7 separate regions of the Homo sapiens genome follow, and regions 2, 3, 4, 5, 6 and 7 are each linked to region 1. The links are contacts of gene promoters, found by promoter capture Hi-C in blood cells and fetal thymus (Javierre and others, 2016). All regions are on one chromosome and are shown on one strand. Each heading gives the region's core, a stretch centred on a gene start or on the middle of the fragment in contact. The rest is flanking DNA. Distances are from core to core; before and after follow the strand shown.

Region 1 (4,203 bases), core at 1,171-3,670:
GAACAGATGAGTCAGGTGAGCTGGGCTGTAATTAGTTTCCACAGAGTCTGGTCATCAAACAGGCATTTACATACTAAGAGCAATGACACACATACCCCCTCAAATGATGACCTATATCAACCAGGAAGTCTTATTCTTTCAGGCTTTTGACTGACTTTGGAAATCCTCCCTTTTCTGTAGTCCAGGCCTCCTTTCCAACTCTCTTGGAATGTTAGAGACTTGGTATATTTCTAAGCAAAAATAAAACAAAGCAAAAACAATATGAATTCCAGGGAAAACATTTAAGTACATGGAGAATGGAAAAAAGAAAATTTGAAATAGTGATTTATTTCAGCTAGGACATATATGTGTTTGCAGGGAGGGGAGGCTCAAGGCTTGTAAGTAACTTCGACTGTGATGTTTATGTTTTATTTCCTGAACTGGATGTTAGGTACGGTTATGTTTGTTATGTCAGTGTATCTGAAATATTTCATAATTTACAAAAAGAAAAAGTTTTTGAGAGGAAAGGGAGGAAGGGAAAGATGATTTTTGTCTATGTCCCTGCTTCTACCTGGTAAAAGATAGGGGTTCCTCCTAGTTATCCTAATTTTATTATAACTGAAAAACTGTGTCTGTTCACAAATAAGACTGTTGCCTACTATCCTCTTGGAAGTTAATTCTCATAAGTCAATTCATTTTTTTAGCAAATGTTCAAATCACACACCTATGGAGCTGGATCAACTTCATTGACTTCATCCATGGGTGTGACTCTGGTTGCACTGAACTGCTGATTTGGAGATGCCCTTCCTGTTTTGTTAGTATTATGACATCATATATGTTTGAATGACACACCAGGGAAAGAGGTCATAGCCCGAAGTGCTCATTCAGCTGTGATATCCATAGGCTGCTGATAGGGTACTGGGTTATCCCAGGCTTCCTCCAACCTCCTTCCTATCCATTAGTCCTGCTCCACTTCATCTTTACCTTGGCCCCAGGATCACTGCCCTTTTTATTTCCTATCCAACCATGATCACAGAAAGAGAAAAGATGAAAGCCATGTGTCGTCTTGTTATAAAACATATTAATAGCTTTAAGTAGGAAATGAAACAGAAAAGGACGAATCTAATAGCTAGAATTACACTTGCAAATTATCTGTGTATTTCATGATTCCCACTTGAGATTCCTTCCAAAATAGAGGCGGATTGGCATTATGCTGATTCATAGCAACCTTGATGTTATACTGCCTGAATTAAAATCTCTGCCCTGCCTCTTCCTAGCTACATGGCCTTGAAAAAGATTTTTAACCTCCCTGTAAAATTTAGATATTAACAAATGCCTACTTTTTTAAGTTAAAGACTAAATTAAAAGATACATGAAAATGCTCAGCACAATACCTAGCAAATAGCAAGAGCTTAATACATTTTGGCAATTATTGTGTACATTGATTTTAAATTTTCTCCCTGACCTTTTAATGCTAGTAAGTGGAATACCTCAAATCCTGATACCTATCAAGGATAATCTACCTGTAGGAAAAACCAGCTTCCAGGCAAAAATCATATCTGTTAAGAGTGGTCTCTGTACCTGGTGGGAAATTTCTTCCCAAAAATAGTAGATTCTTCTACCTACTCTCTTCTCCCTACGAATGCCAAGTATCAGTCCATGAAAGGAGACAAGAGTTGCTAAACTGGTTGGTAGTTTGTTTTGTTTTTATTTCATAATATGTATTGCCACCTTCCATGAACAGCCAAAAGAGAGCAGAGGACCAAATGACAGAGTGCATGCTCTCTCCTTTCAAGCTGTCCAGTCACTCTTTCATCAGGACACGGACCTCTTAGGGGATGAATGGTTTTATTTCCCCCAGAAATAAATTAGGCCAAGGAGATTGTTGGCAAGCACTGGGGCGAGACTGGCCCAACTACAGCATCCCTAGCCTGGGGACACCTTCTTCAGTGGACATGAATGGAATTGCTAGGCTTATGAGCTAGGATTAGGCTTGGGGAAGAAAGTGACTTTCAACATCTAGAAAAGCTAGCAGCAAAACTGAACACAAATGAGTTTAGCCTAGAGAATTCAGGGGAAAACTAAGCTCCAAGCGGAAGAAGGTAGTTCTAGATGAAAAACCTGTTTCACATAGACCTATGGAAAAGCACACTGCCCAGAGGACTGTCTGCGTTCCTTTATATCAACATTAAATATATATACTATCTCTGCCTACTCCCTCCCTGCCACCTGTCCTTCCAGTCTCAGCCCAAACCGGCTCCTCCTCCTTCCAGCCCTCCTTTTTTAAAGAGCTCTTTATTAGCTCTAAACAGGAAAGGGGAGGGTAGGAGATGATTGGCTAAGAGGGAACAGCACCACCCTGCTCATTCCCCTCCCATTCCCTCCCTGAGGAAACAGCTGGAATGAGAGGTAGGGAGGGGAGGCTAGGATTGGCTGAGTCAGTGGCAGGGTGGGGGCCAGGCAGCACAGATGAAGCATTTACCTATCTAGGTAAGTCAGGAGGAGCTCAAAAGGAGAAGAAAACAGTAGGAGGCAGGGGAAGCAGCCTCTGTCTCCATCTCTGCCCTTTGAAACAAAAGGGTATTTCTTTTCTCTCTTCAGCCCCCAACCCAGTGGAGGTGAGTTAATCACTAACCAACTATTGCTTATCCTATAGCAATAGGAAGGGGTTTCATGGGAAATCAGAGCTACAGGGGAGGGGAGGTGTCCCTCTATACCCCAGCTAGGGAGATTTCCTCTCTGTTCCTCAATTCTCTGAGTCCATTCTGGGATCAGATCAGGTTGGTAGCAACTTGAGATTGTAGTGTTTTTGTGGAGACTGGGGCTGGGAGGCACCTTCTTTTTCATTTATCCCTTTAGGTTGGATAGGCATATTGTGCAAACAACAAGAAAAAGAAAATAGATTTGTTTTGGAAATTTCCATCTCTGAACAATTGAAATTGAGTTGTGATTTTAGAAAAGAACAGTTGAAATAGAGGGAGTCAAAATGGGGGAGAGTATCTTGGTTTTCCATAGCGACTGTAACAGGAAATTCTCCCGTGGCTTTACCAACTCGGTGTCGATCTTTATTTAAATAATGGGTGCAATGTGTGTGTGTGTTTGATCATGCTCATGTGATAATGGAGCTCTCTGTGTACAGGTGTGTTAGGCATGAGCTGTACTAGGTTGTTTGTAAAGGGATATGAGGTTGGGGCACATGGAGAAAACTTCAGCTACCAGCTCATCTTTGGAAAACCCATGGATAATCTAGCTGCAAAGTCAAGTTTATTTGGATTCTACTCAATTAACTTTCTGACTCAGCCTGTTAATAGACACAGAGACTGGCAAACAGAAAGCTACCTGGCTGTGCCGAGCCTCACCCACATGAATATTTCGTGGCTGCATGTCAAGTCTAGTTAGAGTTCCAAGTGGGGCTCAAGCCAAGGTAGTGTGGCAGAGTCCACAGACAGAGAAGCAGACCAGGGTGGTGGCTTTGTTTGTTTTCCTGCAGGTGTCCCAGTTGGCAGTTTGTGTGGCAGATTTACCTGCAGAAGGAAGGCAGATGTAGGAGTCGAGTCAGAGTAGCAAGTTGCCTCTCCATTATCCATCTTGGGGGGTTTAACCCTTTGGTCCCTAACTTTGACTCTTTTCCTCCTGCTGCAGAGAAGAGGGAAGTGGGAAGCCCTCAGTGCCAGGCTCAAGGGCCTGGCACACGCAGCCCTGAGTGAATATATGGGTTTTCCAGTCCTGGCAACTGGAGATTTAGGCTTGAGCTCACCTCACACCACAGAGCCAACACCCCACACTCACAGACTGAGGGCTGCCCTAGATGGTGAATTTAGGAATAAAGACCACTGGCAGTGTCTAACAAAGCTCTGCTATGCAGAGGGTATTTCTACCTGCTCCTTCCCTCAAACACACTGGTGAAAGGGAAGATGATAATGTTGCCTAAACACACACAGAAACTTGCCCATGTGTTCATGGAGACAGATATGCAAACTGTGCAAGTTTTAGTCATTCTGCTATTTTTCTTAGGATATTTTCCAGCCCAAGGCACATTTCTGGGTAGTCAACAAGAAGCAAAGACACCTGGATTGAAAGACAGGAAACCTCTTTGACTAGTAGGCAGAGAGGCAAAGCTCTTGGAGGACATGTGGGGGGTTCGTGGGAGGAGGATGAGAGGGACCTGGGTCTGATTAGAAGGTACAGACAAGCCAACCTGGAATGGAGCTGGAGCCCTCTCCC
Region 2 (4,203 bases), core at 610-3,109, 480 kb before region 1:
TTGAACTCCTGGCTTCAAGCAATCCTCCTGCCTTGGCCTTCCAAAATGCTGGGATTATAGACATGAGCCACCTCACTTGGCCCAATTGCTTAAGTAGAATAGAAAAAGCAGTAACTGGAAAAAAGAAGACTCCTAAATTGAATATTATTAAAATGTAGAACTTTCATAAACAAAAGACATCATTAAGAAGGAAAAAAGAAAAGCCACAGCCTGAAAGACAATATTTGTGTTACATTTATTAGAAAACATGAGAATATTTAAAGAACTTCTACAAAACAATAGACAAACTAATAAATAATAGGCAAAAGTTTGGAATAGCACTTCACAAACGTGAAAAGGTACTCAAGATCATCAATGAAATACAACATAATAATAAAGAAGACCCAACAATCCTTCCTGCAAAAACAAAAATGACTCTTCCAAATATAACATTGAGATGAAGCTGGACACAAAAGAGTATCTATTTTTTGATTCCTTTAATATAAAATTTAGGAAGCAACAAAACTATTAGTGTTATAAATCAGAATAGTGGTTTCTTTGGGAAGATAACTGGGAAAGGGCATCGGGAAGGCTTCTGGGGTGCTGATAATGTTCTATATCTTAATCTGAGTGACGTTTACATGGATACATTTACTTTGTAAAACTCCATTGAACTGCATGATTAAGATGTGTGCATATATACACACTATATATATGTGTATATATATATAGTGTGTATATATGTATACATATACCTATATATGTATACGTATACGTATATACCTATATATGTATATGTATATATACGTATATATATGTATATACCTATATATGTATATGTATATATACGTATATATGTATATACCTATATATGTATATGTATATATACGTATACACGTATATATACGTACGTATGTATATATACGTACATATATACACATATACATACACGTATGCATACGTATATACGTATATATACATATATACATATAAGTATATATGTATATATGTGTGTGTGTGTGTGTGTGTGTGTGTGTGTGTATATATATATATATGTTATACTTCAGCCAAAAGTCTACATGGTACAGGAAAATGGTTGGAAAAAAAAAAACTTCCCAAGAACGTAAACTCCAGGCCACATACCTTTTCTGGTGAATTATTTTTAAAGAAGAAATAATGCCAATCTTATATAAACCCTTACAAGGAAACAAATATATGAAACACTACCAGCTGGCTTTATAAGACTGTCATAGCTTTGATATCAAAATCTTATTAAGGACATTACAAGAAAGAAAATTATAGTCTTATCTCTAAAATATGTTAGGAATGGGATGATGAAAGTGTTCTAGAATTAATTGGCGGTGCTGGTTGCCCAATGTCTTAGTCTATTTGGGCTGCTATAACAAAATACTATAAACTGGTTAGCTTGTACACAACAGAAATTTATTTCTTGTAGTTTTGGAGGCTGGGGAGTTCAAGACCAACACTGGCAGATTCAGCATCTCCTCCCATGGTGGGAGGGCCAAAGGAGCTCTTCCGGGCCTCTTTTATTAGGACGCTAATCCCATTCGTGATGGCTCTGCTCTCATGCCCTAATCATCTTTCAAAGGCCTCACTTCCTAATGTCATCACTTTAGGGGTAAGGATTTCAACATATGGATTTGGGGTGGACTCAAACGTTCAGACCATAACACACAACTTTGTGAATATACTAAACACCACTAAATTGTATAATTTAAAAAGGTAACTTTTATGATACATGAATTATATTTTAATAGAAACATCTAAAATATATCATAAAAGCATATTTGCCATATATAAAAATGATTAAATATTATGACTGAGTTGATTTATTTTAAGAATGTAAAATTGAAATTTAAAATCATTTGCCTTTCAAAAATGTACTCAAAACAATTTGTTGCATTAACAGAAAAAGAGAAACAGATATGATTACATCAATATATGTAACTAAAGTGTTTGATAAACTTCAACATGATTCAAAGACATAAATTTTTTAGCAATGAAGAATATATAAGATAATTTCCTTATTTCAAAAATGGTTATCTACCAAAAGCCTACAGTAAACACCAGCTTAATGGTGAAATGTTTTAAACTTTAACTTTGAGATGTGGAACAAGACAAGGATGACATCTATTGCTACCAATGTTCAATGTTATACTGGTGGTCCTAGCCAGCGTGGTAAAGAAGAAAGAAAATAAGGAAAGAGGGAAGGAAGGAAGGAAGGAAGGAAAGAAGGAAGGAAGGAAGGAAGGGAGGGAGGGAGGGAGGGAGGGAGGGAGGAAAGGAGGGAGGGAGGGAAGGAAAGAAAGAAAAGAAGACAAAGAGTTAAATAAAATTATAATTATTTGGTGGTTTGGCACCATGTCAACCAGGCCAATTTGGAATTAAGTTTTCCAGACTTACTTTCTCTGTACGGTTCTGGACTAGGGTTATAGCATGAGAAATTAGCCTGATATTTGAGAGGCAGAAGTTAAGCAACAGCCATTCCACTCTGAAAGTTGTATCCTTGGATAGAGCTGGTGAGGCACAGTGCAGGAGTAGAGGGTTCAGAAGACAGACCTTTTACCAGAGGCTTGAGAAATACATTCACATGGGGAGTTTCAGCATCCTCTGCAACGGTTCATTCTCTGTAGGCCAGGAATGACAATGGGAACTGTTGCCATTGAACTGGATTCTCTGAATTCACTTGGGGACCAAAGGACCTCAGGGTGGCAGAGTCCCAGTGGCAGCACTTAATTGCCAGAGACAATGGGGGTTCTTGTAATGCATATTTGAGCTGAAACAGCAATCAGAATGATTTGATTGAAGAGGACATTGTTATTGGGCTAATTGATCATGGAGTCTCTAAAACCAAAGTAGACGGATAGCCGACTAAAGTGTTACTTGATTTGTATAAGTGTAAGAGTTTTAGGTCAAGTGAATAGAAGTCTGACTTGAATTATTGCAAAAGAAGTTCATTGTTCATCAACAATTCCTAGACTTGAATAGTTTATAGACCCAGAGCAGCACCAACGGATGGGAGACTGGATTCTCTTGAGGAAGCACCATGCTACACAATCAAAAGCATGTATTGTAAATCTTCCCCTAGCCTTTTCCAAGAAGACTTGAGGCCATTTACCAGGATTTGGATACAGAGAGGTTACAGAAGTAGAAACAGAGATAAAAAATAAATACAGGTATAGGTGTATTATTATATTTTTTGTTTTCTCTATTTTACTAATCTTTTTCATATTTCCAGGAAAATTCCTATTCCAATTCCATGTTTATTACAGATTTCAAATAAGATGGAAGGTTTCCCAATTTGTTTTACAAAATAGCAAAACTGTTTCTTAAAGTGGATAAACAGCAATAAATGTGTGACCAATGTCATTTGTAAACTTAGATTCTGAAGCTCTTAAACTTTCTAGTAAAAGTAACATTTTTAAATACCAAGAAGAAAAGTAAAGGAGTCCAGTTATCCAAAGAGAAGAGTAAGACAAAGATGTTATACACTGTATTTCTCTCAGCCTCAGCCTGGCCCTCACTACATAGGTGTATTATTTTTTAATAAAGTGAGATCTTGCCATATATGCCATTCATCTGATTCTTTTTCCACATAAAATACATCTCTTTCTAGTCATTAAGTGCTTCTTTATGCTGTCATTTTTTATGGCTGAATACCATGCCAGTGTATGGATATACTTATTTTCATTCTGCATAGCTGTTTTATGTTTCTTAGGGAATTCTTTATAATGGTCATTTGAACACATCTTTTTCCTACTAGTAGATTATTTCCAAACCATAGTTTAAAATATTTAGGTTACTCTAACATTTTAACTAATATAAATAATGCTGCAATGAAAAGTTTATACCAAACTACTTTAAAAAGTGTGTGATTATTTCCTAAGTATAAATTTTAAGAAGTAGGTTAAAATATATGTTCACTTCTGAGGTTTATAGTGCATGGGGCCTTTCAAGAGGATGTGTTGATCTCGTGGTACATGAGAGTCCAGGTTCTTCCACAGCTTCGCTAACCTTGAAGAGTATCAATTTTAAAAATCTTTACTGATTTGCCAAGCAAGATGATTATTATACTGGAGGTGGTAGAAACAACATAATTTCACGTTTATTGAAGTAAAATCAAGTTTGAAGGCTTTTATGTATTTAAACTTCTGGAATTAGAAAAGACACATCCCAGGATAAGGAAGAACTTAAAGAAAGAGT
Region 3 (4,203 bases), core at 847-3,346, 460 kb before region 1:
CACGACTTCTTAGTCATGGTTTTTCAGACATGCATGGGGGTTTTCAGATTACAAAACACTGTCACATGCATTACACCATCTGATTTTCAAAACGTCTCTCTCAGAGATCAGGATGTCAGTTGTGCTCATTTTATACATGTGGACACTGAAGGTCAGTGATGTGACTTAACTTACTGGGTCCAAGACACCAGCTGGTAAGTAGCAGAGGCTGGAAAAAGCAGAACGCTGGCTTCCTAATAAGTAGATTTCATAAAACTCCACCACCTACTTCTATATGCATACACTTTGGGTGCAGAGCTCTTATACTTCTTTAAAATTCCAAAGGACCGTGCACACTGGAAGCATCCATCAGCATTTTAAAATTTAAATTATGTCAGCAACAAAATTTCTAGGTAGTTTAGTTTAGGCTGTTTCACATTTGGAAGTTATTGTGATAACCTCAGTAAATTTTTTTTTTGCAATTAATAGTGTCTGGGATTGTTTATAACAGTAACTTAATCAACATAGGCTAAGTAAAACAACATTCTAGTAAGAAGAGGGCCAGTACTCCCAAAGATGACACAAATTCCTAAGCGTTGACAACAGATTGCTTAACTTACTGGGCATGCTTCTCTCCTAAAAATAAGATTGTACGTTTTATCACATCTCTGCACCTGACAGGTTACTTTCTGGTGCCTAAGGAGATCAAATATTAATAACAACTCTTGCGGGACTTGGTTCTACTTTATTTTATTTTATTTACTCTTTTAGAGAAGAAGGAACACTCAAATAATGAATGTAAAATGTCTAGTGGCAGAGAAGGGCGAACCCGGAGTTGTCAGGAATAGGCTGGACAAAAACAACCAAGACTGTCACTTCAAATGAGATGTTGCCAGTGAGTCTAGGCAACCAAGAAGACTTCTGGGGAGCCGAAAAATAATAATAGAAGGGTTCTAACTGAAGATGTTTACCTATTTGAAGTTAAGAAAAAGGAAGAGATGTGGCCTCAAAATTTCCATAATAATTATAATAGGCGTTATTTTGTACTAAACACATCACTAAAATGCGAACTGTAAACATATCTACTGTCCCTTCTACCTGCAACGGTTACATTGCATGTTCTGGGGCTTCCCTTGCTCTTCTAATCCGCAAGTGCCTGGCATGCATCTGTCTTAAAGTATGCTGTCAATTAAGTGCATGGTGATGATGGCCGTGGTGGCTTGGTGTGGGGGGCGAGGACAGTTCCATGCGGGGCAGTTGTCAGGTAACACCTGCATCCCTAGGACTGCTTGTCTAAACACCATTGGGAGCAAAGTACAGAGGTAACGGTTGGGGGATAGAAATGGACTCGGGGACACATAGCCCTGTGTTAGATACTCGACAGGCTTAATGCCACTGAGGCAGCAACTCCACGATGCAGAGATACCAGTGTCCCCATTTTACAGAAGAGCAAACAGACTCAGGTGTGCTAAGTTGCCTCACAGTTAAGTTTCTAGGACCAGAACTCAGGTTTGTCGGATCCCCAAGTTCCCTTTCACTAGGATCAACGCCACGTCTTGGCTATAGCCAGCCGAGGCTGTGAATACACAAAGGCAAGGAATTTCGTGCGGCACCCGCTCAGCATCTGCGCCTTCCACTGCGCTCGTCACGACTTAAGCCCCTGCACCTGGGAACTCCACGCTTACCCAGAAGCAGCGAGGGTCTCCAGTGCGCAGAAGGATCCTACACCCGCCGCCCTGCCGGGTCGCGCGCTCAGCCCACCCATCGCGCTGCCTTCGGACCCGGGCGCGCAGAGCAGCGCAGCTCAGCGCTGCACGCGAGTTCTCTGCGGGGCCCCGGGTTCCTCGTCCGCCCGGGCGCCTCCCCACGCCCGCCCGCCTCTCACCCCAGGCCACCGGCAGCGCAAGCAGCACCACAACCGCCAGCAGGGATCCTCCGCAGCAGAAGGGGAGACCGGGCGCCGGCGGCCCGACAGGCTCCGGGCTTCTTGGAGAAGAGGCCCCCATTCTCCCCAAGCACATCTACAAACCAGATTTGATCTCGAAGAAAACTGAAATAAGAGGAAAAGCTCAGCGAAAATAGGAGTGACCAATCATTGTGCTCCGCGCCCAGAGTGTGGGGAGGGCTGCGGGGTTCCGGGACAAAATGCTTTTGACCACAGCTTCCCCTTCATGGGCGAGGTCATGTTTACTCCCCATTTGCATTGTTTCTAACGAGTTTCGCTGGCAGAGCCCACCTTGCTGACCCAGGTGCAGCAGCAGAGCTTGACAATGCTCGGGCTTCCGATGGATCCCGCGTGTGAGGCCCTGCGCTTCCAGACAAAGGCGGTGGATGATGGCAGCTCGCCTCCAAACACCCTGCTTAACTTTTCCTCTTTGCAAGAATGTGTGTGGGAAGGTCAGCTAATGAAATGCCTGCTCTCCGTGTTGAAGGGCAATTGCAGGCGATGTGTACGGTGTACAGGGAATGTGAAGAAACAATTTCCTTACCCTGAATTGAGACGTCATGCCATTGTAAGATTTTTTAAAAGGGAGGGACAATTAGATACACATTTAAAAAATGTAAATCTGTGTATAGTATGGAAGGTAGATTAGAATAGGGCAATAATGGACTGCGAAGACCAGTCAGGGGAGCTTTTGCCGACATCCAAGTGAGGTTTGATGGCGGCCCTGACTGGGTGGATAAAGTGGACAATTAACAAAGATATTGGAGATGGAATGAACAGTTGCTCATGTATTGGATTTTGGTTACTTCCTTTCTTAAGGTTGGTGGTGAGAAGAAAGCAATCAAGAGTTAGCCCCCTTGCGGTAGTTTGCTGAGAATGATGGTTTCCAGCTTCCACAATGAGAACACATGGACACAGGAAGAGGAACATCACACACCGGGGCCTGTTGTGGGGTGGGGGGAGGGGGGAGGGATAGCATTAGGAGATATACCTAATGTAAAGGACGAGTTAATGGGTGCAGCACACCAACGTCGCACATGTATGCATATGTAACAAACCTGCACGTTGTGCACATGTACCCTAAAACTTAAAGTATAATAAAAAAAAGAAACAAAAAAAAGAAAAAAGAAAGAAATAATTAAATAATTAAGTTTAAAAAAGGTAGAAAAAATAATATTTTATCTTTTTTATTGGGGGTGGCCTGTCCTTCTGACATGTACTGCCTGCCTGTAGGTAGGCTATTTTGCCTGGGTTTTTCTCTTAAAATAATTTTGACTTTAAACCTTGATTTTGTTGTTGTTGTTGTTGTTGTTGCTAATTTTATGTTAAACTTGTTTTCCTTAACCATTAAAAGGAGACATGATTCAGAAAAGAAAAAAAAAAAAGAGTTAGCCCCAGGATTAGAAATGAATGGTGGTGCTACTTACTGAAATAAGAAGTATGGATGTAGGACTGACAGATTTAGGGCAGAGGGTTAAGTATTCAAGGATGAATGTATTCCTCCTATCTATCTGTGATCCTGTGCCCTTTAACCAATCTCTCTCCATCTCCCATTGTCTCTCCCTTCCCCAGCCTCTGGTAACCAGTATTCTACCCTCTACTTCTATGAGATGAGTTTTTTAGAGTCCACATATGACTAATAACATACAGCATTTGTCTTTCTGTGCGCATTGGTTTCCATTAGGCTTCCTCCCAAAATTCTAGTGGAAGAAATGTCTACTTTGATCATATCACTTATCACAGTTTTTAGTACATCCAGTGACATTCTTTTAAGGATTTGCTATCATCATTTCAAGTTATTCTCAACAGAGTAATGGGAGTAGCAGCCAGATTGTAGTAGGCTTAGGAAAAGAGAAGAGGAGAAGGCTCATTTCCCCAGTTTTACATCACATGCTATCAGAAGGTGCCACTCCTTACCACTTCTGCTGGTATCCATCTCCTAGTATCTACTTTCTCCCTCATTCCTTGAAAGTTTGAGCTCCTGGCTCATGGCCACCTTCTCCACTGTTACTTCTGCCACAGTTCCTGGTGATTTCAACATTCACAGCAATAGTATTTTCAAATCCCTGGCCTTCCAGTGCCTTGACCTCTTCTCTGCCTGTGGTCTTGTCCTCCACTCTCCTCTGACTCTAATGCTCATGTGCATGCTCGGAGACTTGTCACTTTCAACCTCTCAGTGATTTCAATGATCCCACTCTCTAACCACCAATCCAACTCTTTTCTTTTACCCTAGTAACGTTAAACTGAATCCAGCAATCTTTGTCTGTCTCAGTGCCTGC
Region 4 (4,203 bases), core at 1,202-3,701, 430 kb before region 1:
CCTTACTTCCTCTACTTAGCGACATGTATACGATATCCTTCCATGTCCATACATATATGTCTGTCTAAATTGTTACAAAGGCTTAACTGTTTTCAGCAGCCATTGCCCTTTGTAACTATCGTTAAGATCTCCTTCCTCCAAGGCTATTTATCAATCAATCAATCAATAAACAGAATCCCATTTTATACTAATTTAACAGTTTTGTCAGCTCTTTAATCTGCTTAAAATTTGTCAATATTGTTCTTTATTAAGAAAATACCTAATTTGATAGTATAATTTTTGTCAAATATTGCCATTTCTTGTAATTGTGGAATTCAAATTCAGATTTATATTTCAGCAGCAACATAAACCAAACCAAAAGAGAAGGAATGAATAATTTACAGTAGGTCCCTATTTTCAAAGGCATTTATTTGAAATGTGATGGCTCAGAAGATGACTTGGGGAAATAGTGGATAACTTCAAAACATGTTTACAGAGACCACAGAGAGCAGGATATCACCTGTGCTAGACTGTGTTAGCAGCTACTTATACATTAATTTCAAATCCATTGGGTGTATTTTTGCTATAAGATCCCACCGTTCTTCTCATTTTAACAGTAACACAGATATACAGTTGAAAACCACCCCATTCCCACATCCCCAACAAACTCTGACCCCATCCTTGCAAAACTTACCCTACTCAATTATTAGGTGTGTTTAATTACATTTTTCCATGTACTTTAAACTCCTTTGCTCAATTGATGTTTTTTGAACGAGCAGTTATATGCCTCCACGAAGAAGCCATAACTTTCACCTTTTCCCTTGTTTCCTTCTTCCACCCTCATCATTACATGTTCACACTGTTTGTCCTTCAGGAGGGTACAAAACGTGGTCTGCACAGAAAGGCAAGACCCCAACCTCCCAACCCAGCTTTCTTTTCATACTCACCACTTACACAGGTTGGTAGTCGTGTCGGCCCCCACATATTATTTGCTTGACACCAAACAGACTTGTTTCCGTTCATGGAGAAGTTGGTTTTACAGGCAAATGTCACAGAATCACCATGTCTGTAGGGTGTAGAGCCTCTAATTTTGTATCCTCCTGGTACTATGGGCTCAGGGCAAGAAGAATATTTATTGAAATATTCACATTTAGGAGCAGGTTTATCCCAGGTTCCATCCACTTTGTCTTTAGTTATGCATAATAGACTTTTTTCTCCAATGAGGCGGAAGGTACCTGAACAACTGTACCTTATCACGGTACCAACAGCAATGGGGGTAGAATAATAACTAATCCGGCCATTTAGGATAGGCGGAGGAGAGCCACAAGAAATCCCTGAAAAGTAGAAAAGGAACTTGGTAGGCATACTGATCATGGTGAGAAAATATTCAAATGTAGGTAAAATATCCAAATATAGATCACATAACTTTTTCAGAAACAGACTTAGAAATATGTATAGTTTATTTATTCCCTGCTTACTCCCAAACTCCTAAATTCTTACCTTTTTCTTGATCCTCAGCAAACAGATCAACATAAATCATCTTGACCAAACAATAATAATGAAAAGAATATATCCAAAAGTTCTGAGTCTAATCAATTTTAATAATGAAACAAAAGGCAAATTCAGCACATGAAAATAACATATTAGTGGCATGATAGTTACATGTGGGGAGGTACCATGGATTAGGGAAATTTGAGCTCAGTGGACCTAGTTTCAACTCCCCACGGTCATTCAATAGCTGTGTGACCTCAGGCAAGTCTTACTCTCTTTAAGCTTCAGTTTCTTAGTCTATAGTATAACGCAAACTACTTCATAAGGTATAGTGAGAATCCAGTGCTAAAAGTACATGAACAGAGAAAGTACAATACCTGGAACATACTAATTATTCAATGGCTGCTTCAAACACACAACTGGGGGTACAGGCTGAGATGACCACTTTTGGTCCTGCTGCTGAAGATGCTAGAGCCTCAGTACAGGTGATTTGTCCTGACTTGAGGCTGGAACACTTTGAAAAAGCCACAGGAAGTGAACAGAGGTTTTGAATAATGGCCTCATATTCTTCATTTACTTGTCCTAATAACCATGAAGGATATTGTTTACATTTACTTTGTTATGCACGCCTTTTCTGAGGGAGTCTCAGAATAAAGGGAAAATTGCCAACCTCTAGAACTTTCAGTTAACTTCCCTTTGGCTCCAAGAGGAGGTCTTCAGTGAAAACTGACATAAGAAGATACAGCCAAACTGTTTCATCACATCAGTGCTATACTTGGTTTCAGTAAGGGTAACTTTCGAGAACTGTTGTCTTTATACATATAGAATCTGCAGTATAATATATACTCAACTGAATCAATTTAACATCTTTGGTCTGCATTCCAGAAGACAGAGAAGAGTGGCATATATATGTTCAAAGCACACCTATGGATAAGATGTGATAATTATATATATATATATGTATGAAAAAATCTCTAATCATTGACTTTGGTGCTATCTGCTTTTTTAAAAAAGCATCTTTTAATTTCCCCTACAATAACACAGATCTAGCACTGCCCCAAAATACAAAAGAAGAAAAAGTCCTACATCTGCAACATTTAGATATTACTTTCAAAGTTTACTTTTAAACTCTTTAACTAGGCAGGGTGTGGTGGTTCACGTCTGTAATCCCAGCACTTTGGGAGGCTGAGGCAGGTGGATCACCTGAGGTCAGGAGTTCAAGACCAGCCTGGTCAACATGGTGAAACCCCATCTCTACAAAAATACAAAAATTAGCCAGGCATGATGTTGGATGCCTGTAATCCCAGCTACTCGGGAGGCTGAGACAGGAGAATCGCTTGAACCCAGGAGGTGGAGGTTGCAGTGAGCCAAGATCACGCCATTGCACTCCAGCCTGGGCGACTGAGCGAGACTCCATCTCAAAAAAACAAAAACAGAAACACAAAACAAACAATAACAATAAAAAACTCTTTAACTAGAAAACTCAACCACATATACTATCTTCCTTCTGCTCTTTCCATAGGTACCATATATCTATTTCCCAGAAAAACCTTGTTTTATTTCTAGATCCTGAAGTTTCAGCCCAACTCACCCCTGAAGCACTTTGGCAGTAGAGGATTCTGTTTGCTGTTTAGTTGACACCATATTACATTGCTGCCTTTCAGGGTAAAACCAAGCTTACACTTAAATATCATGTATCATTTTAAAAAAATGAACATAATCCAGATTCCACAACTCCATTTTCAACTTCTATAATTGAGCATTCAAGTAAGAGTAATACACTGAAGAGGAGGGTTGCTCCAGAGCTCCAGACATCAACTTGATTATCTTTGCTGGTGCAATGCATTGACTTCTCATCCAAGAGGTCAAACAGCTTTTCCCTATTACATCCAATATGGCACTGATGATTTCATAGCAAACCCCTCTCCCTGCTGCTGCTGTCAAAGTCCCATGGGGGATGGCTGGGAGTGACTTACAAGGAATACCTTTTTAAGGAGTAGGTGGGGAAAGAGAGAATATTATACTTTCTGAGAATTTTCTCTTCATTCTTGCAATCCAAACTGCAACTCAGCCTACAATTTACCTATTTTGTTGAAATTCTGTATCCTGATCTCAAAGATGATTCTAAATAGGAAGTAGCAAGGTCAAAAGATATATGGAACTGGCTGATAAAAACCGAAAAGCTATGAGCTGGTCACCAGTCCCCGCCCCAGACCACAGATAAATTGTTATAGAAGGGACCTAGGGTGGCTTACTTTTTGCATGGAATAAAGTTGGCAGTGTGTAATCTCCTGGAATGTTTTAGATGTAAGCATTTACTCACTATGAAATAACTTATAATCAAAGGACAGTAAACAAAGGAACGTGTGGTAGGATTGGGGGCCATGAGGAAGATGGGTAAGTCATAGCTGTGTGCCTAGAGCTACTCAAACCAAGTGTAAACCCTCCTGGCTACTCACTTTGGTGTGCAGATGCTCAATTTCCCTCTGGAAGGGGACAAGAGGAATTAAATAGGGTGCAATAAAGAGATTGTTTTACTTACATTCATTAAAAGGCATGTCATTATCCCAGGTTACAATATTGTCTGAGATAATACATGTAGCAGATGAGTCACCAAAGAGTAGATATCTAAAGACAAAGAGATAAGAAATCTCGCGGCACACGTTTACCCTGTAACAAAACTGCACATCCTGCACATGTACCCCAGAACTTAAAATAAAAATAAAAATAAAG
Region 5 (4,203 bases), core at 580-3,079, 430 kb after region 1:
TTAGTGGCATAAAACCATGGCAATCTCTGCTTTCCACGTTAGACTGCATTTGATGTAACACAGAAGCCACTGATTTTGCAGTCCTTGAGCAGTCCAGGTGTTTGTGTTTTATTACATATGCTGAGCCGTGGGTTTGCATTTCACCAAACAGATATTACAGATGCATTCGCGATCTTAATGTTCATATTTAATTCAAATTGGTTTTGTTATTAACTCAGATGAAGGGAACATTTTTGGGAGTTTATCTTAAACTCCTTTTTCTTTAATCTTTCTCAGTCTTGGGATGTCTATTAATAGTATTATTCTTTTGGGATAGGGAGGAGACAAGATTTATTCTCCCCATTTCAGAGATGAAGAAACTGAGGCATGGAACTTTTAGGGGCCCAGAATTGAAAGTACGCTTGAGATGAGGGCACAGGCTCTCTGCCCCCTCCTGGCCACTCCTGCCTGTTGGCTCTCTGCTGTCTCTGACCTCACTGCTGACTCCTCTGTGGCCAGGGCTGGAGAGTATTGGAGCTGCTGCTTGATGTTTCTGACATGAGATTTTTCCAGGCGGTCTGGAAACAAGTCCTCTCCACCTTCCATTGCTCCACTGGCCCTGGATTCAGCAGATCTCAGTGAAGAGAAGGGGTCTGTCCAGATGGACTCCACCCTGCAGGGAGACATGAGGCACATGACCCTGGAGGGGGAAGAGGAGAATGGGGAGGTTCACCAGGCACGTGAAGACAAGTCTCTCTCAGAAGCCCCAGAAGACACCAGCACCAGGGGCCTGAACCAAGACTCCACAGATAGCAAAACGCTTCAAGGTATAACTCTAGGAGGAGAAGAGCCCATCTCCCCACCTCTCAATTTAGGAGCCTGACGAACTCCACTCCACTGCTGACTAGAATGGCCCTTAAGCTTCCGGGGGAGGAGGGGAAGGTCCTTATTTTCTGTGAGGGTGGCGCAGCAGCCCTTTCACATCTTGTTTTTGAATCCTTTCCACATAAGTCACGTCTTCCTGGGAGCTAATCTGCCCTGGCATTTGCCTGTCTTCAGCTACAAAGCCCTCCAAGGTTTCTTCTGGCTCAACTTCTCTGGGTGAACACTCCTAGCTTGGTGGGACTTTGTGGCTTGACTCCTTCTCTGGGGTCAACCCTCTTTAAAGGCTCAGTGCTCAAGAGAGGCTGGGAGCTTTGGTACCTGGGAATGGGTTCCTTTCAGAGCCAAGTGGGTGAGGTAGGGATGAAGCTGGGGGTCGTTTTCTTGTACCAGGTGTTCTGTATCCCTCAGGAAGGATGTGGCTCTTGTCTTTTCCCTGCAGAACAAATGGATGAGCTGTTACAGCAATGCTTCTTACATGCCTTGAAGTGCCGAGTCAAAAAGGCTGACCTCCCTTTACTCACCAGCACTTTCCTTGGCAGCCACATGTTCTCCTGCTGGTATGGAAAGCACTGATGTGGGCTGGAGGCCGGGGCCGGGGTCTCACGTGTGCTCCTTGGTAGTAGGACAGGATGGGGCCAATGCAGGGACTGGTTGAGGGACATGCTGTGGAAAGAGTGGAGGGAAGGCTTATCTGACAAATACATTAGTTCCTGGGTTCTAAAAAGTTAATTCTTAGCTTGCTGGGCTGTTAAAACAAAATCTTAAATTTTAGCCAATGAAAGGATATTGAGGACCGGAAAGTTAAAATTCCTGAGATTCTGTGAACACTGCCTCTGCCGTGGGGGTTCTGGGCAACCTCACAAATCGGGCAGCGTGTCCTCTGCAGGAAGTGTCCCAGGGCAGCCTCTTTGTCAGGAATCTTCTTCTGGAACATTCAACCTCCTCACACTTCTGAAAAGTATGTGGGGGGCCACATTAGGTTTTATTAGGAGGAAGAATTGGTGTGAACACCCCCCGTCCCGGCCCACCCCATCCAAAACACAAGCCATCAGGAGTGGTATTATTGCGTGTGGATAGAACCTGGATTTTGAAGACAGAGCTGTCTGTACTCAACTGCTAGGTCTCCAGGGTGTTCAAGCAATGTGCATTTTAGCTTGTTACTGGGCTTCTCTGAGTCCTAATTTCTAATAATCATGGGATTGCTGTAAAGATTACATAGCCTGAACCATAATAAGCATTCAGTAAATACTATCATGTCAGGAGGTTTGCTTATTGATTTTTACCCTGAGATTGAATTTATTTATTTATTTATTTTTTGTTTTGAGACACAGTTTCACTCTGTCACCCAGGCTGGAGTACAGTGGCGTGATCTCGGCTCACTGCAACCCCTGCCTCCCAGGTTCAAGAGATTCTCCTGCCTCAGCCTTCCCGAGTAGCTGGGATTACAGGCACATGCCACCATGTGCAGCTAATTTTTGTATTTTTAGTAAAGATGGGGTATCACCATGTTGCCCAGGCTGGTTTTGAACTCCTAACCTCAAGTGATCCGCCTGCCTCGGCCTCCCGTAGTGCTGGGATTACAGGCGTGAGCCACTGTGTCCGGCCTGAATTTATTTCTTTTTGAGAATCTGGCTGTGGTTTTTTAAAAAAGTGATTCTTAATGTAATGTCTTCCCATTTATACTTGGGTGTCTTTAAGCTATCCTGTACAAATGTGGTGTCTGGAGTGTGTGGAGGGATACTTGGTAATCTGTTCTGACTTTCTTGGGTTGCAAATATATGGTAAAGGGGCCCCAGAATATTCTGTAGGATAGGATTCTGGGGTGGATTCTAGAAGGACTCCTCGAGAATCCACTGCTATTGCGTGTCATGTTTTGAGAGAAGATGTAAGCTTTTATCAGGAATGTTCTCTCCAAAACTAATTGCTGTAGTGCAGGGGTCAGCATGTTTTTCTGTAAAGGGCCAGATAGTAAATATGAATATTTTCAGTTTTGCAGGCCACACCATCTCTGTTGCAACTGCTCGATGCTGCCATTGTAGCACTAATGTGACCATAGACAGTAGATAATTAGTTGGCCAGACCTGACCCCAGGATGCGGCTTGCTGGGCCCCACTCCAGGCCTGGCTGCCCACAGTGTGAGTTTGCTGTTGCAACTTTGGAGGCCACAGAAGGTTGTCTGGTCTGGGAGGAATCTAAGGCTGTATCCAATGTGGTAGCCACTGGCCACATGTCGCTATTTTCAGTTTAAATTAATTTAAAGTAAATAAAATTTAAAATTCAGTTCCCTTGGTCACATTAGTCACACTTCAAGTACTTACTACCCACATGTGGCTAATGGCTGCCCTGTTAGACAACACAGAGAACATTCCACGTCTATGGAAAGTTCTCTTGAACAGCACTGATTTAGAATGTCCCATAGTCTGCATCCCTCTCTGCTGTCATCCCTGGGCAGAGAGTTCTGGCACAGTGGCCTCTCTCTGAAGGTGGGGGAGGAAGGCTGAGGAAAAAGGCCCTCCTCTCAGTGTCAGGCAGGTCCCAGTATGACTGCTCATTAGTTTAATTTGCCTTTTCCATCTGCCATCAGCCCCGAAGGACGACAACTGGACATAAAGAAGTCAAGCTACAAAAAGGTAAGCAAGGATCTTCTTTGCAGACCCATGCAGAGAGTTGTGTAGGGGCACATATGACATAAGCCAGATGGATGCTGGGGAAGCCTTGTCTACCAGGCTCAGTCTAGAATTAAGCTTTTTGACTCCAAGTATAAGGGGGAAGAAAGAAACTCTCCCTGGGCTGAAGCAGTTGGTGGCACCCACTTTCCTTTCTCCTTTGACCCCTTTATATCTGATTAGAGTTCTGAACGGCCTCACTGGTTAGTCTCTAGCAGCTTCTTGCTCCCTGGCCCTCAGGTTGGGGGCCTCCCAGTTCCTGGTTGATGAAGGCAGGGGCTGTCTCATATCCCTGCACAGTCCCTGCCTAGCTCACTCTGGCACATCCTGGGTGCTCAGTATGTGTGTGGAATCAATGAAGTCCCCTACCACTGGCCCTCTCTCCCTTAGCTCTCTAAGTTCCTGCAGCAAATGCAGCAGGAGCAGATTATACAGGTGAAGGAGCTGAGCAAAGGGGTGGAGAGCATTGTGGCTGTGGACTGGAAACACCCGAGGTGAGTGCAGGGGGCCTGTCACTGTAGCCCAGCTGGCCCCAGGGCACCTGGGCCACGGACTGGGGATTGCTGAGATGCTAGTATAAAATGTGTTTTTTCTTTCCTTCTGCTGGGTTTTAGGATTACATCTTTCGTCATACCCGAGCCCTCCCCGACCTCCCAGACTATCCAGGAGGGTA
Region 6 (4,203 bases), core at 999-3,498, 410 kb after region 1:
TTTGATAAAGGACTTGTAACTAGAATAAAGAACTCTTACAACTCAATAATAAGACAAATAACCCAATTTAAAAATGGGCAAAGAATCTAAATAGGCATTTCTCCAAAGAAGATATAAAAATGGACAATGAACACATGAAGATATGCTCAACGTCATTGGCCATCAGGCAATGCAAATCAAAACCAATATGAGACACCGTAATATCAAAAACAATATGAGACAACCTGGGAAACATTCTGGCAGTTCCTCAAAATGTTAAATATAGAGTTACCATATGACCCAACAATTTCACTCCTATGTATATGCCCCAAAGAAATAAAAATGTGTTCACAGAAAAACTTGTATATGAATGTTCATAGCATCATTCGTAGCCCCAAAGTGGCTACAAACCCAAATGTCTATCAGCTGACTAATGGGCAAACAAAATGTCATATACACATACAATGGAATATTCTTTAGCAATGAAAAGAAATGAAGTACTGACACACGTACATACAAGGCTCAACATGTATAAGCTGTGAAAACAGTGAACTAAATGAAAGAAACCAGTCACAAACGGCCATGCATTGTATAATTCTATTTATATGAAATGTCCAGAAAAGGCAAATCAATAGGGACAGAAAGTCAATCAGTGGTTGTCTAGGACTGAGCAGCTGAGGAAAATCGAGGAGTGACTGCTAATGGGTACAGGGTTTCTTTTGAGGGTGATGAAAATGTTCTAAAATGTTGATTGTGGTGATGGTTGTGCAACTTTGTGAATATTCTAAGAGCTACTGAATTGTCCACTTTAAATGGGTGAGTTGTAGGGCAATGAACTATATCTCAATAAAGCTATTATTGAAACAAGCACAGGGCCAGGTACAGTGGCTCACCCTGTTACCCCAGCACTTTGGGAGGCCAAGGCGGGTGGATTACTTGAGGTCAGGAGTTTGAGACCAGCCTGGCCAACACGGCCAAACCGTGTCTCTACTAAAAATACAAAAATTAGCCGGTTGTGGTGGCGAGTGCCTGTAATCCCTGCTACTTGGGAGGCTGAGGCAGGAGAATCACTTGAACCTGGAAGGCCGAGATTGCAGTAAGCCAAGATCGCACAGCTGTACTCTACCCTAGGCGACAAAGCGAGATTCCATCTCAAAACAAAAACAAAAACAAACAAAAAACAAACAAAAAAAATTCCTTATTTTGTAGATATAGGGTAGTATCTGAGAATTTGTTTTTCTGACAAAATCCTAGCTGATGTCACTGTGGCTCTAGAAACGACATTTTGAGAACCACTGGATTAAGACCCTCTAGGGAAAGACGGACAGGGAAGGAGAATGAGGTGTGGTGGTCAGAGCTGAGTGGGAAGCAGCCCTAGGTGTGGCTCTAGAACTAATAAGATTAGCAATAAGAGCAGTAGGATAATTGTTGTCCACCCACCTCTCTCCTCCATGTTCATTTTTTCAGCGAGGCCCCAAGGAATACATTTTTTTTTTTTTAACAGACATGCGCTACCATGCCCAGCTAATTTTTGTATTTTTAGTAGAGACAGAAGTTTTGCCATGTTGGCCAGGCTGGTCTAGAACTCCTGACCTCAGGTGATCCTCCTACCTCGGCCTCCCAAAGTGCTGGAATTACAGGTGTGAGTCTCCGCACCCAGCACCCAAGGAATACTTCTAAAAGATACTTTAGAAGATTATGGTCTGACCTCAAAGTTTAGAGAAAGAAAATGCTACTTTTCCCACAATGACCCACGAAAGCTTTGTTATCCATGACTTTACCTAAAAGTTTTCAGAATATTTTTATTTTTTATCCTGGGTCTCTACTTTTGGCTTGCAGGTTGTTCTGCTGTAAATGAAGGGTGGGATTAGGGTAGCATTGGCAACAAACAGCCTAGGCATCACCACTTTCCCTTCTGGGGCTGAGAAGACACCATGCCCTTTAATTACAGCCTTCTTTTCTCAGCTCCTCAGATTTGGCTTCAGAATCCTCAGCATGGCTCCCTAGTCAGCTGGTACCAACCTGGGAGAGTTGACATGGCACATAAAGCTTATTTGCCATCCTGGGATTAGAAGCTCTTGAGGAACCTTTGAGCTCTAATGTGGGATTCAAGTCCACACGCGTTTGTGAAGCAACTATGACCAAGCACTGTGGCTGACATGTGGGTGAAAACAGAACGAGTCTCGGGATTCCAGATTAAATGAAATAGGAGCACACTTTAAATTGCCACAATGGTAACCTTTTTTAAGGTTTAAGGATCTTGAACCTGGGAATAATGCATAACAGCTACACATCTGTATACAGCAATAACAAATGATTCCCTGATTTCAGAGCCTCTTCCACTCTTATTGGCCATGTATTCTCAAAAGTTTTTCTTTCTTGTCTCCCAATGCAAGTGAACAAGGGGAATTGACTAGAAAGCCAGAATCCATCATTATGGTTGGAAGCCTTTCTGTTTCCCCCCTTACCTCAGGACTTGGAGAAGCTTAACGTGGGAAAATTGCTCAGAACCTCCAACCGATCACTATCATGATGATCCTTTATAGTGTTCTATTTCATGTGCTGCAGACTTTGGACACTGGTTGTATGATTTTGCTTGTTTTTCCTCTGCTTTAAGCAGCTGAGTACTCTATATTAAGGCCTAAGCAATCAATATAATAATAGCTACCCTTTGAGTGTTTACTATTTGCTAGACCCTGTGCTAAGAGTTTGATGCATATTATTCCATTTAATCCTCACTACGATGAAGTTAGACAGTTTTGTTTTGTTTGAAACAGGGCCTCACTCTGTTGCCCAGGCTGGAGTGTGGTGTCGCTATGTCAGCTCACTACAGCCTCAACCTCCTGGGCTCAAGCAATTATCCTGCCTCAGCTTCCCGAGTAGCTGGGACTACAGGTTCATGTCATCACACTCAGCTAATTTTTTGGTATATTTTTAGAGACAGGGTTTCACCATGTTGCCCAGGCTAGCCTGGAACTCCTGAGCTCAAATGATCCTCTTGCCTTGGCCTCCCAAAGTGCCGAGGTTACAGGTAGGTGTGAGCCACCATGCCCGGCCAGGCAGTTTTATCCATTAATATTTTACAAAAAACTGAGGCTCAGAGAGATTATATAACTTGGTCAAGCTGATTGTTAAATATTCAAGAATTTTGTAAGCTGCGGTTTGTTAAACCTAACTTGAAATAGGCCATGGTAGGAGTATTTACAATGCAGAAATGGGTAAGCACTCTAAGTCAGAGTTCCCCTTTCCCCCATTCAATTCACCAGCAAAGGACTGGTTAACCCGAAAGCACAGTGACACTATCCTTTTTTGTTAGATCTTTGTCCTGTATATATGACATTTGAAATTTGAATTGTTTCTAGGGTTTGGCAATTATGAAAAAGCCTCTGATCATCATTTATGTCCAGATTTGTATGAACACAAGTTTTCTCCCTTTTTTTTTTTTTATTATTTTTTTTTTGAGACGGAGTCTTGCTCTGTCGGCCAGGCTGGAGTACAGTGGCGCCATCTCAGCTCACTGCAAGCTCCGCCTCCCGGGTTCCCGCCATTCTCCTGCCTCAGCCTCCTGAGTAGCTGGGACTACAGGTGCCTGCCACCACACCCTGCTAATTTTTTCTATTTTTAGTTGAGACGAGGTTTCACCTTGTTAGCCAGGATGGTCTCGATCTCCTGACCTCGTGATCCACCTGCCTCAGCCTCCCAAAGTGCTGGGATTATAGGTGTGAGCCACCGCGCCCGGCCTTTTTTTTTTTTCTTTTTTTGAGACAAGGTCTCACTCTGTCACCCAGGTTGGAGTGCAGTGGTGGGATCTCGGCTCACTTCAACCTCTGCCTCCTGAGCTCAAGCGATCCTCCCACCTCAGCCACCCCCTTACCCCTTCCTTGGCTAATTTTTTGTTAGTTTTTTAGAGACAGGGTTTCACCATTTTGCCCAGGCTGGTCTTGAACTCCTGGGTTCAAGCGATCCACTCACCTTGGCCTCCCAAAATGCTAGGATTACAGGTACAAGCCATGGCACCTGGCCGTTTTCCAAAGTTATTTATCATTTTGCATTCCCACCAGCAATGCCTAAGAGTTCCAGTTGCTCCACATCCTTGCCACAACTTAACATTGTCAATTTTTTTTTTTTTTTTTGAAACGGAGTCTCACTGTCACCCAGGCTGGAGTGCAATGGCACGATCTTGGCTCACTACAACCTCTGCCTCCTGGGTTCAAGGGATTCTTC
Region 7 (4,203 bases), core at 842-3,341, 410 kb before region 1:
TTGGGGACAATTCATTACATATAATGGAATAATAAAATCAATCCAAACCTCATACATATTAATTCTATTCCCAATGGATGATGGCTTAAACATGAAAGGTAAGACATTAAAAAATGTAGAAGAACCTATATATGAGAGTACTTTTATGACCTTGGGGTAAGGAAATATTTCTTATAATAGACATGAAAATGCAAATGATAAAGGAAAAGTTTGATGGATTCAAGTATATTAACACTAAAAACTTCATTTGTTAAAATATATTATTACAAGAGCACAACCACATGACTTACATAAGACATAAGTCATCTGCAATACATATAACTAAAAAGGAGACTGTTATGTAGAACATGTGAAGAACTGCTACATACCCATAGGAACGATATACCAATTAAAATGGGTAAAAGAATGGAATTCTATTTTCAGTAATGTTATGTCCTAGGTTAACTGGATGAATTATTCCACTGAAAACAACCCTAAGTGCTGAAATACGTGTGTGTGTGTGTGTGTGTGTATGTGTGTGTGTGTGTGTGTTTAGATCGATCTATCTATCCTATCTGTCCATCCATCCTGCCTATCTATCTATATATCTATCTATCTATCATCTATCTAGATATCCCTATAAATATATATAATCAGAATGTATAAGAGAAATTATTAGGGCAACATAAAAGAGAAAGTGGAAATCTACTAGGTCATTTTAGGGGTGTGGGAGAATTTGAGCTTTGATTCTTGTAGAATTTCGGGCCACTAGAAACAGAAATCAAAGCTCACCAGGATGGCTGAAATTAAACAATCAGATAATAAAAAGTGCTGATGAGGATGTAGTGAAACTGGAACCCTTGTACACTGCTGGCAGGAATATCAAATGGTGCAGGTACTTTGGAAAGCAATCTGGTAGTTTCTCAAATGATTAAACCCAGCAATTCCTCTCCTAGGTAAATACCCAATAGAAATGAAAGCATATGTTCACACAAAAACTTGTACATGAATGTTCATAGCAGCATTATTCATAACAGTCAAAAGGTAGAGATGACTCAAATGTCAATCAACGGATTGATGGATAAACAAAGTGTGTACATCCACATAACGGAAAAAACCATAAGATGGAATGATGTACTGATATGTTACAACTTGGATGAGGCATGAAAACATTATGCTAACTGGAGGAAGCCAATAACAAAAGTCCACACATTATATGATTCCATTCACGTGAAAGTCTGCAACAGGAAAATCTATAGAGACAGGAAATAGATCAGTGATTGCTTAGCAGCGGAGGGGAGTATAAAGGGAGGATGGATAATAGGGAGTGGATAGAGGATGACACTAAAAGAGTATTCTTCAGGTGATGAAAATGTTCTAAAATGGACTCTAGTAATGACTAAATGTATTTGTAAATATACTAAAAGTCATTGAATTGCATACTTTAAATGGATGAATTGCATGGTATATGAATTATGGTTTAATAAAACTGTATTTAAAAAACCCTAAAGATAAAGAAAACTTGAAAATCAGTAATGGAAAAAGATATGTTATGTAAACAGTAGTAAAAGATATATGTAATTATATCAATTGTTGACAAAAGAAAATTTAAGAACAGTTCACTTAGATGATATAATAATTTTAAGTTTTTCTACATATAATAGTGTATCTTCAAAACATTTAAGACAAATTCAACAGAACTACAAGAAGAAACAGACAAATTTACAATGCAAATTTAAATTCACAGATACATTTTATCTGTTGATAATTGATAGAATAAGTTGATAAAATTAGCAAATAAATTGAAAATTTATACATGATTAACTTGCAAGGCATAGGGAACTTATAGAACACTGCGCCTGATAAATGCAGAAGACATCCTTTTTCAGATACAGAAAGCTAATGTACAAAAATTGATTGCAAGCTAGATCATAGGGCAAGTCTCGAAAAACTTCAAAGATTGAAATCATGTGGAATATGTTCTCTGATCTCTACGCCATTGAGCTAGAAATTAATAATCAATAAATACTTTTTAAAAACTGTATGTTTGAAAATTAAGATAGACATGTCTAACTTATACATAGGGCAGAAAAAAATCATAATAGAAACGAACATATATTAGTGTGTTTTTCAAACTGAGCCATAGGAGAAAAAAACATTAAAATTTATGGGATACAGCTAATGCGGGTTTTAGAAAGAGATATTAGATATATTGTCTTAAGAGGTCAGAAAAAAAAATCCGAAGAAAGGAGATAGTAAAATTAAAACAAAAAATCAGTGACATCAAAAACAGGAGCCAAGTTGGGTTCTTAAAAAATCTAATTAATTTGTCAAATGACCAGTGAGAATGATCAAGAATAAACAGAGGGACAAAAATAAAAGTAATGATGAATATTAGAAAGGTATAAGGGGCCATTACTGCAGATAGATCAAGAAGAGAGGGTATGTTTGCTGTCAACAGCAACCAGAATGCACCAACCAGAAGTCCTTAGCAAAATGTTTCCCAATCTATGATTTATCCTAAGATAGTATCTGTTTCCATGATCAGCTTTGGAACTTCCTAGCTTCTGCTGAATTATAAAGGAGATTGATATCAAGCCATTCTAAACCATCTCTAGTCCTCCTGCCTTACAGCAGAATTCTATTTATGCACAAGTTACCCTTAGACCATAGGTTGTGGATGAGATCCTTGCTCCAGCACAAAGCAATTGCCATTGTGTAAATGGGGCTACCACATCTGCAAGTTGTGGTTCTCAGTGTTGATGAGCTATTGTCTGAACCTCCTGGGGTATTGCCAAGAACACATAGCAAGTGTAGGGGCATGGTAGAGACCATGCAGGTGGCTGCAAGAGAAGAGAATCACTCTCCATGAGACTTAATTTTTCCCAATTCAAGTATTTTAAAAATCAGTTATGGTTTCCTGTCATGACACTAATATGGAGTTTTAAAACAGTTGCAATGTTTTGCAATCTAATAAACTTACATTACTTAGAGTTTGGGTATCTTGAATACAACATAAAAGTCATATGTAAAAAAACAAAATGAATCCTAGAGATTTCCTGGAAAAAAATCTGGCCAGTTATCCAAAAAGAAGAGGAACTGCTTCCTTTAGGGGGTTTCCGCACTGGCCTGGGGTGTGTGGGATGTTGGGCCCTCAAAATAGTGAAAGAAGTTCATTTAGGAGTCAAATAAGAAGGAATATTCTTTCCCCTTTGCAAAGCAGAATTAATGTAGTATCAGAATGAGTAGAATCAGTGTCTAGATTCCGGCTAAGATAATTCTTTCCCCTTCCAAACCACTTGACTATCTTCGCTGAAAACCAGCACCTTCTACAGTAAGCAGTAAGCTGCCTCGGAATACTTCTGTCACATAATGCTAATCAATGAGCAGTCCACAAAAATGGTCAAACATCTGTGTGACCTGGTCATGTTGCTAGTCGTGATAATGGTGTGGGGTGGTCTGGAGGATGGGGGACAGGGACATTTGCAGGGACTTTCCAAACTGCCTAATGCTTTGCAGGCATTTCATCACCATTTCTGTTTTCATTCCTTCCAGTCAAAGCAGAAAGAGATTTTCCTGCCATTTGGACCTGTCTTCCTGCAAAACTCATGGATTTGCATATCATATTTTACTGTATTTTACTTATTTCAGATTTTGTGTTTATGAGGTACTGAAACAAAGGCTTGACCCCTCACAGTTTTAAGGGATGCAGAATACCCTTTGGGAACAGAGATGGATTGCTGTCATCGGGTCATCCTATGTCTGCCTCCAGAGGTGGCCGTGATACTGAAGAACAGTGAGGGGCCAGTAAGTAGTGGAAGAGGGTGTCCTTTCACACTCCTTCCAGAATTCCCTACCTTTTCTTAATAGCCCTTTTGTTTACCTTGGAGTTTATCCAAATCTTCATTTAAACAAATATCTTTGGCTTCAAGAAGACACAGGATTGGTCATGTCTCATCATCTTTATTTCTACTTCTCCCTGACATGTGGAGAAGTCCTATAGTTGATCTTCTTTACCGAGACTTCAGTTTAAAAAGAACTTTAATAAACTAATTTACTTTAGTGATGTAACTTAATATAATTTAGTGATGACACAAAACTAAATCTGAAACATTTAGAATAGTATTTTATTAAAAATAAATTACTTTCCCTTCCCTAATTTATCAGCAATCAAGTTTTTAAAAACTTTTTCACTGAAGATTGAGAAAAGACACTGCCAAGATA

The links. Contacts are between HindIII fragments. The CHiCAGO score rates a contact against its expected background, and 5 or more counts as called.
Region 2: a fragment that was not itself captured here is called in contact with the fragment with the promoter of C1orf116 in region 1 in 12 of 17 cell types (neutrophils, naive B cells, monocytes and 9 more); the score reaches 12.1 in neutrophils.
Region 3: a contact is called between the fragment with the promoter of CR1 here and the fragment with the promoter of C1orf116 in region 1, in 17 of 17 cell types (neutrophils, monocytes, total B cells and 14 more). The highest score is 15.2, in neutrophils.
Region 4: a fragment that was not itself captured here is called in contact with the fragment with the promoter of C1orf116 in region 1 in 9 of 17 cell types (neutrophils, monocytes, naive CD4 T cells and 6 more); the score reaches 11.1 in neutrophils.
Region 5: a fragment that was not itself captured here is called in contact with the fragment with the promoter of C1orf116 in region 1 in 1 of 17 cell types (naive B cells); the score reaches 5.2 in naive B cells.
Region 6: a fragment that was not itself captured here is called in contact with the fragment with the promoter of C1orf116 in region 1 in 1 of 17 cell types (naive B cells); the score reaches 5.8 in naive B cells.
Region 7: a fragment that was not itself captured here is called in contact with the fragment with the promoter of C1orf116 in region 1 in 5 of 17 cell types (neutrophils, monocytes, total CD4 T cells and 2 more); the score reaches 9.4 in neutrophils.

The regions. Positions count from the first base shown.
Region 1 is chr1:207,030,973-207,035,175 of GRCh38, reverse strand. It overlaps C1orf116 (chromosome 1 open reading frame 116), which reads left to right and starts at 2,420. Exons shown (of 4, transcript NM_023938.6): 1 at 2,420-2,597. It also overlaps a transcript of PFKFB2 not described here. The HindIII fragment of the contact is 5,727 bases long and covers 1-4,203 here.
Region 2 is chr1:207,511,812-207,516,014 of GRCh38, reverse strand. All of the region lies in intron 4 of CR1 (complement C3b/C4b receptor 1 (Knops blood group)), which reads right to left. Among named protein-coding and RNA genes, the nearest start is that of CR1, 18 kb to the right of the region's middle. The HindIII fragment of the contact is 7,541 bases long and covers 1-4,203 here.
Region 3 is chr1:207,494,050-207,498,252 of GRCh38, reverse strand. It overlaps CR1 (complement C3b/C4b receptor 1 (Knops blood group)), which reads right to left and starts at 2,096. Exons shown (of 47, transcript NM_000651.6): 1 at 1,865-2,096. The coding sequence starts at 1,985. The HindIII fragment of the contact is 13,119 bases long and covers 1-4,203 here.
Region 4 is chr1:207,463,636-207,467,838 of GRCh38, reverse strand. It overlaps CR2 (complement C3d receptor 2), which reads right to left. Exons shown (of 20, transcript NM_001006658.3): 2 at 927-1,313. Among named protein-coding and RNA genes, the nearest start is that of CR2, 11 kb to the right of the region's middle. The HindIII fragment of the contact is 1,394 bases long and covers 1,755-3,148 here.
Region 5 is chr1:206,599,554-206,603,756 of GRCh38, reverse strand. It overlaps EIF2D (eukaryotic translation initiation factor 2D), which reads left to right. Exons shown (of 15, transcript NM_006893.3): 6 at 553-806; 7 at 1,304-1,421; 8 at 3,449-3,494; 9 at 3,921-4,024; 10 at 4,145-4,203. Among named protein-coding and RNA genes, the nearest start is that of EIF2D, 11 kb to the left of the region's middle. RefSeq lists an enhancer at 671-1,870. The HindIII fragment of the contact is 1,854 bases long and covers 903-2,756 here.
Region 6 is chr1:206,619,148-206,623,350 of GRCh38, reverse strand. No RefSeq gene overlaps it. Among named protein-coding and RNA genes, the nearest start is that of EIF2D, 8.8 kb to the right of the region's middle. The HindIII fragment of the contact is 436 bases long and covers 2,031-2,466 here.
Region 7 is chr1:207,443,936-207,448,138 of GRCh38, reverse strand. No RefSeq gene overlaps it. Among named protein-coding and RNA genes, the nearest start is that of CR2, 8.3 kb to the left of the region's middle. The HindIII fragment of the contact is 7,026 bases long and covers 1-4,203 here.